Regions from separate parts of the Homo sapiens genome. Here region 2 is linked to region 1. Evidence: promoter capture Hi-C in 16 types of primary human blood cells and fetal thymus (Javierre and others, 2016). All regions are on one chromosome and are shown on one strand. The core of a region is centred on a gene start or on the middle of the fragment in contact, and the rest is flanking DNA. Distances in the headings are between cores, read along the strand shown.

Region 1 (5,512 bases), core at 71-2,570:
TCTACGTGGGGCTGAGCTCACACTGCCTGCCTAGAAAGCAGCTCCAGAATGCAGTGGAGAGGGTGCCAGGATGTTTGTGTCCTCCCTGGGGACAGTGGGGTGGCTGCCTCTGCCGGTCTGATGACTGGGCTGAGAATATTAGCTAACGTTGATTGGACACTCATGGTGTCTTTCAAACAATTTTTACAGGATTCACAGGGCAGGCCATGAAGCCAGACTGCACGGTGCAAATTCCAGCTCCAGCACTTACTGGAGGGCAATGTTGGGCAAGATGCTTAACTGCTCCATGCCTCAGTTTCCTCATTTGTAAAATGGATGGAATAACGTGGTGTATCTGTGCCTTAAAGGGTGTTGTGAGAATTAAAGGAGTTAGTCCACATAAAGCTCTCAAAACAGGCTTTGCACATAGCTCATGCTCAGTAAACATGAGATATTATGACTTCAGTTAAGGCTCACAACCACCCAAGAGGTAGTTATTAATGCTGTCAACCCCATTTCATAGAGGGGGAAACTGAGACTCGGAGGAGTTAAGTGGTTTATTAAAAATCCAACCCTTGCTGGTCTCCGTTGATTGCACAGGGAAGTCACCAACCCAGGGGATCGATCAGATTCTGTCCCCCATCCTCCAGGAGTAGGGTCTCACACCATCAGTACACTGCAGGCACCAGACTCGGAAGACTGAGGCAAGGTCCTGGGTCTCCATGTTTACATCCATGCATTACTCGCAGAGCCAGGACTCAAGGCCAGGCCTGTGTGGTTTTAGGCCTGGAAATTCAACCCCTGCCCCAAACCACCAGGTGCTCCAAAAGGCCACAGAGATAGCCCTGGTGGCCAGAGATCAAGGAACCCTCCCCAGTGGATAGGCCACGTGGCCCTCTGCACACCCTACCGGACCCTGCTCTCCATTCTTGCCGACTCCCTCTGAGGCCACTTCTGAGATTTGTTCAAATCCGACACCCCCAAAGGTGGAAGTGGGGTGGGGAGAATGGAGGGTCCTGGGCTCCAAACTGTCTGTTGGAATGGCCCTGGGCCCTGGGGACCCTTGGCCTGGAAAGAGGGAGGCGCATGGCAAAGGGACCTGAGACTGTGGCTGCCAGGCCTGGCCTGTGGAGGGCCTTGTGTCCTTTCACCCCAAGCTCAGGCTTGTTGAGCACCCTGGCTGGAGGATTCAGCCCTCATCACCACCTAGCTCTCTTCTCCCGGGGGCAGCCCTCCCTCCACACCCCTCATAGACCTGCCTGGAGGGGGACTCACAGGGGCGGGTCGTGGAGATACTGCAAGTTCGCCGTCCTGCCGCCATGACAGCCTGGAGTTCGAGTTAATCCATAACCACAAATATTTGCTTGGCCCTCAGCACTGAGGCCTCCCTCTCCATAGACAAACAGTGGCACTAGCACTCCTGGTCCTAGCTCAGCACGGCTTGTTCTGCCCGAAGCCCACCTCTGCCCACCAAGGATGCCGTCCAGCAGGGAGGGAGGTGAGGGCAAAACCCTTGACAGATGTGGTCTCATTTTAGCCCCATAGTGGCTGGCTGAGGGAGGAACGTTGTCCCTGTTTTTCAGATGGGGACATTTTTGCCCAGAGATATTATAGTTTGCCCAAGATCAGCACAACAGGTAATATTCCATATTTCGTCAAATCTAAAATACCATTAATTATAAGACACATGTATTTATGTGCCACCATACAAGAAAAAAGACGCTGTCCCAATGACATGCCATCCCAATTTCTGATACATAAAATCATGAGAAGATGCTCCTTTTTGGGTCCCCAGTGCATAGGTGCTGGGCACTGGGCTCCACCCTCACCTCCAATTGCTCACAAATCACCCCCAATCCCCACCCCCAACACACACACACAATGGCACATAGCATCCCTCTAACCTCTATTTTTCAGGTAAGGACACTCAAGTTTTGTGTTACTCGCCCAGATTCACTGAGCTGGTAGTTGGCAGATTTAATTTGAACTCAGGTCTTGCTGCTTCCATTTGGCCCCTTTTGTGGACCAGTAAGAAAAATGAACGGGATTCCAGAAAGGCTGCAGCAATTTCCTGGCCGGGGTGCCAGAAGGGAGAAGGGCAGAAATAAAGGGTCCAGCTCAGCACCTTTGCCTGTGTCCTGCAGTCTATCAGCATTTATTAAGCGTCTTCCTGCTCCGAACCGGGCTGCACCAGAGATGCCCCCCTTTCCTCCCTGCCCTACCTGTTCCTGGGAAGACTTGCCCACGTTCCTTCTCCAAGTCTGCACCTCTAAACGGGGCATGTGACCCTGCCTCGCTGGCTTCCATTGATTGCACAGGGAAGTCACCAACCCAGGGGATTGATCAGAGGAGTAGGGTCTCACACTGTCAGTACACCATAAGTACCAGACTCGGAAGATTGAGGCCAGGTCCTGGGCATCCATGTTTACGCTTAAAGCAGAGGAAGCTGATGAGAAGGAAGATGCAGGTGTGCAGAGGGGGACTGAGGCCACGGACACCTAGAGAGTCCCAGGGAGCAGCGGAAGGAGGCCCCTGCCTCCTTATGATTGGTGGCACATCCTGGCTTCGGGTGCAGGAGGGTCCCCATGCCCTCCTAAAACCCTATTCCTCCTGAAGTTTCTTTAAATTGGCTGGAACAGCTTGTGTTGATTGTAACCAGATGCCTCCTGCTGAGGCACCACACCATGCTGGGCTGTGGTGGTACCAGGCCCTCCTAGAGGAACAGGGTAAAACTCTAACACTCTAACAAGTCAGGCCCACCTTGCCCAGGGGCAGGTACACATAGGAAATGCTTACAGAATTCAGAGGAGAGGGCAATCAGTACAAGCTGGCATAGCCAGGGGAGGCTGCCTGTAGGAGGTGACACTTCAGCTGGACATCAAAGAGCAGACAGGAGGAAAGACATCCCCCCCAACCCCACCCCAGGTTGGGAGACAGTGGGGAGACACAGAACACAAGCAGTCAGGAGGTGCTAGGAGGGGTGGAGGTGGAGAGGAGGTGGAGGGTGAGGCAATGGATTTTGAAATCGAGACTATGAGAAGTGGAGAACCAGGAGCTGTTTGTGACAGGCTGTGGCAGCTGCCTAGAAAAGCAGAGACAAGCTTCTGGGAACTCAGACAGGAAGCATGAAGACCCCATGCACAACCACAGAAGGCACCAGCTTGTATGTCCCTGTTTGCTTCAGGCGTCGCCCCCGCAAGTCTGCAGAGATCACTGCCCTCTGCTTTGCCTTCCAGGTGCAAGATGTTGTGGGTATTCTTTTGGCGCCGCTTCCCTTCCCCACCAACTTCTCGCCCTCTACTCCTCCCCACCCCAGCACAGGCAGCCGCTCCAGGGCAAGTCTATGCAGGCTCCACACACTGATTCTGACCTGCATAAATGGACTCTGCCCGGGGCACCCATGTCCAAACCAGCCCAGGTGCCCAAAGCACCGGCACCGGTACGAGCCAGGGCGGCTGCAATGCTCCCAAGTGCCCAGTGCTGGGGGTTGGGGGTGCCACGGCTTGGCAGGCTGCCCAGAGGGCGGAAGGGTCCTCTGCAGAGCTCTGCACGCCTGTCGGCCGACGGGGACTCTGCACGGCGGGCTGCGTCACGGCCGCCTCATCGGCTGGCAGCGCAGGAAACCCCGTCACCTTCTCGAGGTAGGGACAGTCCTGCCGCCAGCCGTTCCTGCGATCCCAGGGTCTCTGCAGTTACACCTGGTTCCAGCCGGGGGCGCCGCGCCGCACCGCTCCTGCGGAGGAGCCAGGCGCCCTTCACAGGCGCGGCCTCACCCGCTTTACTTGTCAGGTGTGAGTCGCCCCACGTGCACCCGAACGCGGTCAGGTCCACCCAGGAAGCCGGAGCAGGACTTTGGGCAGCGAGCTCGCTGTGAGTTAGAGAGCAGAGGGACACCTGTGGCTAAGGAATTCGCTGCATGGATGAAGACCCAAGCAAAGGAGCTAGAACCAAATGTGTGTGGGGCAAGGCCAGCCACAACTACCGGAGCAGGCGGGGTTCCAAAGCCCTCAGCTCTGGAGTCACGTTCCCACGGCCTTAAACCTCCGCTAGCCTTTTTCTGACAGGGGGATTTAACTTCCCTGTGTCTCAATGTCCACATTTGTAAAATGGGGTCAGCGTCCGTCTCAGGTGACTGTTATAAGGGTCACGTTAAATCTTTTATTAATTTTTTAATTAAAAAAGTTTTGAAACAGGGTCTCTCTGGCTCTGTCACCCAGGCTGGAGTGCAGTGGCGGGATCACAGCTCTCTGCGGCCTAGATCTCCTGGGCTCAAGCGATTCTTCTGTTTCAGCCACCTCAGTAGCTGGGATCACAGGCCCGTGCCACCACGCCCAGCTGATTTTTAAAAATTTTTAGGAGAGAGGAGGTCTTGCTGTGTTGCTCTAGAACTCCTGACCTCAAGTGATCCTCCCTCCTCAGCCTGCCAAAGTGCTGAGATTACAGGCGGGAGCCACTGTGCCTGGCCTTATTTTTAAGTATTTTATACAAAGTGGACATGGCCTGGGACTTAACAGGACTTCCCACAGGCCTGGGAAGGTCAGGGAGGGGCCGACTAGGAGGGGAAGGGGTCAAGGACAGCTGCTGCTGTGTGGAAGCTCAGACTGCACAGATCCGTTGTACAGATTAGGGCTGATCATTCAGTCAGCCCTAACCTGTACAACACTCCCCACCCCTTGCGTTTTGGCCCTGGCTCTGCCAATAGATGCCAGAAACCCAACTTGAGCTCACTCTGCTGAACAGTGATGAGAGATGGGCTGGTGGTCAGGGCTGACGGGACTAAGGTTCCTTCTCACCCCATGCCACTCCCCTGTGTGGGCATTGCCCATTCTCCATTCTCTCTGCAGGGACGCTGTGCTGCTCAGCCCACCCCAGGCAGGGCAGGGAGGACAGACACTAGAGAGGCTCCCGGGAGCTCCCTGGTAAGAAGTGGAGTGGGATGGATGCAGTCCAACGTCTCTCTCTTTTGTTGTTGTCAGGTTATTGTGGTATAATTTACACACAGGGAAACTCACACTTTAAAAATGTACAGTTCTGCTTGTTTTGACAAATGTATGTTATAGTGCATCCACCACCACATCATGATATACACATTTTCATCACCCTCAGAAATTCTGTGTTCCACCCCAACTCTTGGCAACCACTGATTGGATTTCTATCTCTATAATCTGCATTTTCTAGAATAGCATATAAAGGGAATCCTACAGCACATATATATATTTTTTTGAGTTGGTGTCTTGCTCTCTTGCCCAGGCTGGAGTGCAGTGGTGTGATCTCAGCTCGCTGCAATCTCCACCTCCTGGGTTCAAGTGATTCTCCTGCCTCAGCCTCCTGAGTAGCTGGAATTACAGGCACACGCCACCACACCTGCCTAATTTTTGTATTTTTTAGTTTCACCATGTTGGCCAGGCTAGTCTTGAATTCCTGACCGCAAGTGATCCGCCCACCTCAGCCTCCCAAAGTGCTGGGATTATAGGCGTGAGCCACCGTGCCCAACCAGTACATAGCTTTTTAAGACTACCTTCTTTCACTCAGC
Region 2 (5,512 bases), core at 1,523-4,022, 110 kb after region 1:
ATTTACAAAGCAGTAAATGCAAGAAAGAAAAGGAAGTCGCAAAGAGAAAGTGATGTAATGCAAATTGAGGATTTTACAAGATCAGATACTGCTGCTTTAAGTCAAGGGTGAATAATCTCAACAAACAGCAAATAGCAATCACTTTACCAGCTGCATATTGCACCCACATAGGTAACTCTTCATTTTAGGAACAAACTGAATTTGAACACTGAGCCTTTTGAACTCAGCCATCTCTATATATTCTTTCCTTAAAATTCATGATTTTGGGCAAAAAAAAAAAAAAAAGCATATCAAAACAAAATTTTAACTACTAATGGGAAGGTTAAAAAGCTGCCACGTATTTCTAGTACAATGTATCCAATAAGAGCAAGGACATTGTTAAATGGAACAAGACAGCTGGGAAAGGCCCCACTATCTCTAATAGAATTGTGCTACTATAAAACATGAAGATATCAGCAATTTGGCCACTTGCAGTTTTTTTCAGCATGTTAAAGCAAGTGCTAAGTACTTTATTAGTACTTTATTTAGTACTTTATTTTAAAGGTCTAGAAAACAACAGTCTTCCTGGAGGCCCCAGAATCCCTTTCATGGGATTCATAAGGGACTCAGGTATTCTTATTTTCTGCCAAAAGGTGTGCTTATTTAGGGACTCTTTTACGATACTTTGTTTCTGAAGTTAGGTAGATCTTGGTTTACTGTGCCAAGGTCCTACCTAGCATTCCCTGTAGGAATATTTGAAATTCCACTAGCTAGTCTAAGAAGTCAAAGCACAAAATTAATTGTCAACGCTTCTCTCATATTCTTAAAATTGAAGCAGTTTGCAGGGAAGAACAAGAATGAGGTGTCCCTGCCTTGGTAAAGCAACTGCCAAATTTTGTTCTAGAAAGAATCCCCAAGTGTGTGGATCTATTATAATTTCTTTATCTTTTATGAATGAGGGCATCTTTTCTACTTGAGCAAGATCATGGTCCTTGACCAGTGGGCTTTTCCTTCATATCTGTCTTGTGTAGTTGTGCTTTTCCTTTGGCTCGTTTTTGGTCTGTCAGGGTAACCAGCAGTGCACAATATGAGACAAATGCTCTTTAGAGAGAAATCTGGTGAGACTGTAGAACCCAGAGCAAAACTGTTTTTTTTTCAGTCTCTGTTTTCTTTTCTAAATGCTATAGAAAATAAAGGCACCTGAAAAGAAACTACTACTTTAACACTGCTGTGGAAGGCCTTTGCTTTATAAGAAAAATATTATTAGCTATGGGAAAGTAATGTTCTTTATGTAAAGACTTAAAAATAGACTAATAGTTTACAGAGTTATTATATAAAATACGATGTGAATTTATTTCAAACAAGTTGTGAAGGTACCAAAAACCACAATAAAAGTTAATATATATAAAAACTACTAGAACAAAAAAGCTTGAAGGTGTGGGGGTGGAGGGTATGGAAGACCAAAAGTAAATTTAAAAAAGAAATTTTTGAAAGGAAACAGCTTTATCAGGGGAAGTTAAATATAACACTCCGTTTTTTTCTTCTTTCTAATAATGATATGGATCAACAAATGCAATTTGAACTTTTTAAGATAACTCTAAATGTGTTTTGTTTCTTAAATGCACAATTGATTCTTCTATACTGTAATGCTTCTTTGCTGACGCTGGAAAATGGTCAGACTGCTGACTTTGTGCCTTTAAAATGCATTCTGCTTTGACAGTGGCAGACTTTTTGGTGCTGGAGAAGATTCACTAGCAGTCTTATATGTGCTTTTCAGGAAATATCTTTCTACTTAAGGCCTTGAGAGATTCAAAGTGGCATGACTTAGGCTTGGACCAAATATAAGATCTTTTACATTGCAAACAAAATGTTGTATTGAATAAAAGGGTTAAAAAAATCATAATGACTAGTGGAAATTTTGATGGGTTGTTAATTATTTAAAATGTATTTGAAAGTATACAGACTGAAAATTTCAGTATGAATATCTTGAAAATTTTCAGCACTTTTCCTTGTTTACAAAACATCTTTCTAACTTAAAAAAATGACTATTGCCTTAGAAAGTTTTAAAAGGCACAGTTACCCTTACATAACATATATAAGGAATTAAAATATTAATGCATTTGCTGAACTGTAAAAGAAAATTTTAAACCTTGATTTCAGAGTGAATTGGATTGGCTTTCACTTGAGAGAGTCTTTACCTTATTCCCAAAGAAACTGCATTAAAAAGATGAAACTATTTCTTTAGACTAAGTCTCTGCTACTCCAGCTCATATATATGTCAGATCTGCTCTGTAGTATTTCTGACATGGAGTTGTTATAAGATATGTGAAATCACTTAGAAAATAAAATCAGATGTGAATAGTTTAGCAGGATGACCAAGCCAGATGCAGACTCCTTGGCCTATGGCAAAGTTCTGTGCCAGTGATTTTATTTGGAGTCTGGGAACTGATAGCTTGATATAAAATCACCTGGTGTCAATTAAATATACAAATCTATCTTTTTTAATAGAATGAATCTTCTTTGTTTGTTCAATAATTGTAACTTATTATGTCAGGTACTAAATTAACATCCTTAAGGAGGTCACAATCTAGGAGGAACATGGGCAAACAGTTACTTATTTTATGGCATACGCTAACTCTGAAAGTTCAGCAATGATGTTTTAAAATGTTATTTTTTATTAAGGGAAAAGCAATTTTAGGTAATCATTGGCTGTTATAAACGGAAATGTCACTGACAACAGGGATTAGAGTAAAAGTATCTCCAAACTAGAGGGATCCCCTCCCCAACCAGGTCACATAGCATCTCTCTCAGGACCCCCTCTTACTGCAAAACCCAGCCTCTACTCAACAGTTCTGGTGATGGGGAGCATTTATTCCATAACAGTGTTTTTTTGTTCTTTTTTTTTTTTTTCCCCAGTGTCTCTTTTAAAGAAAACATACTTTATTTTGGTCTAAATTGTGAAAATACCCAAAACATTTGATAGAAATTGAACTCTGTCAACAGTGTTATTTATACTAAGATCAGGACAGTTCCTTGAGATCATACTGTTTTATTACTAAGTTTGGCCTTTGTTTTACAAATGTAATGTTCATATTTATTTGAATTTTAAGATTGGTTAAATGTTAATGAAAAGCAATCCAATTGTTAATTTTTAGTAGTGCCTTTTCTCTGTATGCCTTAATTTTATTTTATATTAATAATTCAAGTTACCCACCAAAATGAAGATTTTTTCCAAAATCAGTAGGCTTCACAAGTTCATTTGGCCTTAGACTGTGTATTGGTCCTTAAATGTTTCTTAATGCCTGCCTCCTCCTACCCTTTTCTACCTCCTTTTTAAAAAAATAAATAAATAAATAAATAAATGTTAGGAGAGAAACATTAGGATTTGTCTGTGATAGACATGCTGCAGCTTCCACTAGACATGAATTCCCAACACAAGCATAGAAAGAGGTATTCTCGTTCTAAAGAGACATGTAAATGTTTTCTGGGTTGAATATTTGATTTTCAATCACATTGGCACTGTCCAAGTTCTTGGCATATTATAGTTCAGTTATGATTTTCATGGTAGAGTTACAATACTTGTTTTTGCCCTAAAGAAGTCATTCACATGGTTTACAAATGTTAAGGCAATGAGATAGGACAGTGAGTAGGAAATCCAGGGATAGCAGATTCTAGTCCTTAATTCTCAGCTAACATTTTGGGTAATACTCACAGAAAAGTTACTTTTCTGTGAAGTGTGTGCATGTGTGCATGTATGTGTGCGTTTGCATGCATGTGTGTGTGTGTGTGTGTGTGGTTAGAGTTGGAGGCAGGGATGGGAAGGAAGAAGGGGAAAGGTATGAGTGTTCAATTAGGTCAGTTTCTGGTTTTGGAAGAACAACTCAAATGTATGACCTACTGATGACATACAGTGAGTGTAGTCATCCTTGGGTAGGAACACCAGTACATTTTCCAGAAGTAGCTAGTACAAATGATTGTATAATAATATTGATTGTAAATTGCCATACTCTTGGTTGCTAAAGGTAGATTAAAATTCAATTTGTGTATATGTAAAATAATCTTATATATAATTCTTAAATAGAAAGTAATTGATTTTACATAGTTCTTCCTGAACTTTTTGGAACTGAAATTCTGCCAAACATTATCAAAATAAGCTTCCTTAGCTTACCAAGTATTCACAAGGAAATTCTCTTGTACCTCTTTTTGGTTGGCTAGGGGAAGCATGCTGTGAAGCAGCTATTCCTACTTATAGTTGTCTTTGGCTTGGCTTTGACTTCTGCCATGGTTTGGACAGGATGCCATGGTAGGTGTGGGAAGTATCAGGGCCTCCCATCTTCCCATACTCACCTTCCAGAGCTGTTGATGGAAATGAGCTCTTGGGGGAGCCTAGAGATTCTTTTTTCAGTGGTCCTGTAAGCATTCAAGGTTGAGCTTCAGAAAGATGAGGGAGGAGTCATAGCTACAGTAAAGAAAAGAATAGATTTTATCTGTTGCCTGTATACAGTCTCATAGAATTCTTATTTTTCATAATTGTGCATTTTAATTGATAGTCATATGGTATTTTTGTTAATAACAGCAAAGGCATTAAATCAGTACCATTGTTCCTTCTGCCTGATGACTTCTTGTTTGTAACACAATCTGTATTATCAGAATCACTTTAAACCAAAGCTTTTATATTCCCTGTACACATAGCCAAAATAATTAGCACTGTTACTTCTGTCCACTTGTAAGCTAATAGTATAAAAATTATAAAGCAGATACTAGTAGAATTTGTATTCTGGTATATCCTTCAAGGAAAAGGACAGGTGATCAGTGCATTTAGACATCCAGAAGTTACTTCCACTATTGAGGAACTATGTAGACATGAATTTAAGCTTGTACATGTGCCAATCTTGTTAATGTCACTTGACCACTGATTCACATAGACAGACATTAACGTCTGATGCCTCAGGTTGATGGCGAACTTTCTTCCTAGTGTCTTAACATTTATGAACTTATGTTTGACTTGAGGGGCATTTCAGCAAAGCTGTGAGGAAAAGTAGGTTCTGGACTGATGTCTGCTTTGTGCCATAGACATTTTGGAACATAAGGAAGTATCTGCTTCTACTATATGTACAGGACTTGTCCCCAAATAATTTCTGAATCCCTTAATGCAGTTGAGAATCCCTTAATGCAGTTGAGAACAGTAAAGTTCATGACCATACCGAAAAGCACTTTTAAGTTCACTTCTTTTTAAATATTTTTTTAGAATTTATTTTTTAAAAGCATATGTAACTAGTGATGATTTTAGCATTAGCTTTACTTGGAGGGGAGAAGAAACAAAATTACACCTTAAACTCTATTAGATAGACTACAAAATGGATTTGATGTATTCTTACTTTTCCAAAGAATTTTTTCCACCTGGAATAAGAAGAGAGGACTAGTTGAAACATTTGAGCTGGAGAGGCTTATGGGCAATATGAAGTGGGCCAAATTCTTGCAATACACCCTATTCAATTGAAAGTACAGTGTCTAAGGATAAGAATACTTCTTT

The links. The method cuts DNA at HindIII sites, captures the fragments that hold promoters and counts their contacts. A CHiCAGO score of 5 or more calls a contact.
Region 2: a contact is called between a fragment that was not itself captured here and the fragment with the promoter of PROC in region 1, in 1 of 17 cell types (neutrophils). The highest score is 6.5, in neutrophils.

The regions. Positions count from the first base shown.
Region 1 is chr2:127,414,235-127,419,746 of GRCh38, reverse strand. PROC (protein C, inactivator of coagulation factors Va and VIIIa) reads right to left here and starts at 1,320. Exons shown (of 9, transcript NM_000312.4): 1 at 1,255-1,320. RefSeq lists enhancers at 3,157-3,216, 3,597-4,359. The HindIII fragment of the contact is 16,432 bases long and covers 1-3,082 here.
Region 2 is chr2:127,300,704-127,306,215 of GRCh38, reverse strand. MAP3K2 (mitogen-activated protein kinase kinase kinase 2) reads left to right here. Exons shown (of 17, transcript NM_001371910.2): 17 at 1-5,512. Among named protein-coding and RNA genes, the nearest start is that of ERCC3, 9.3 kb to the right of the region's middle. The HindIII fragment of the contact is 2,726 bases long and covers 1,410-4,135 here.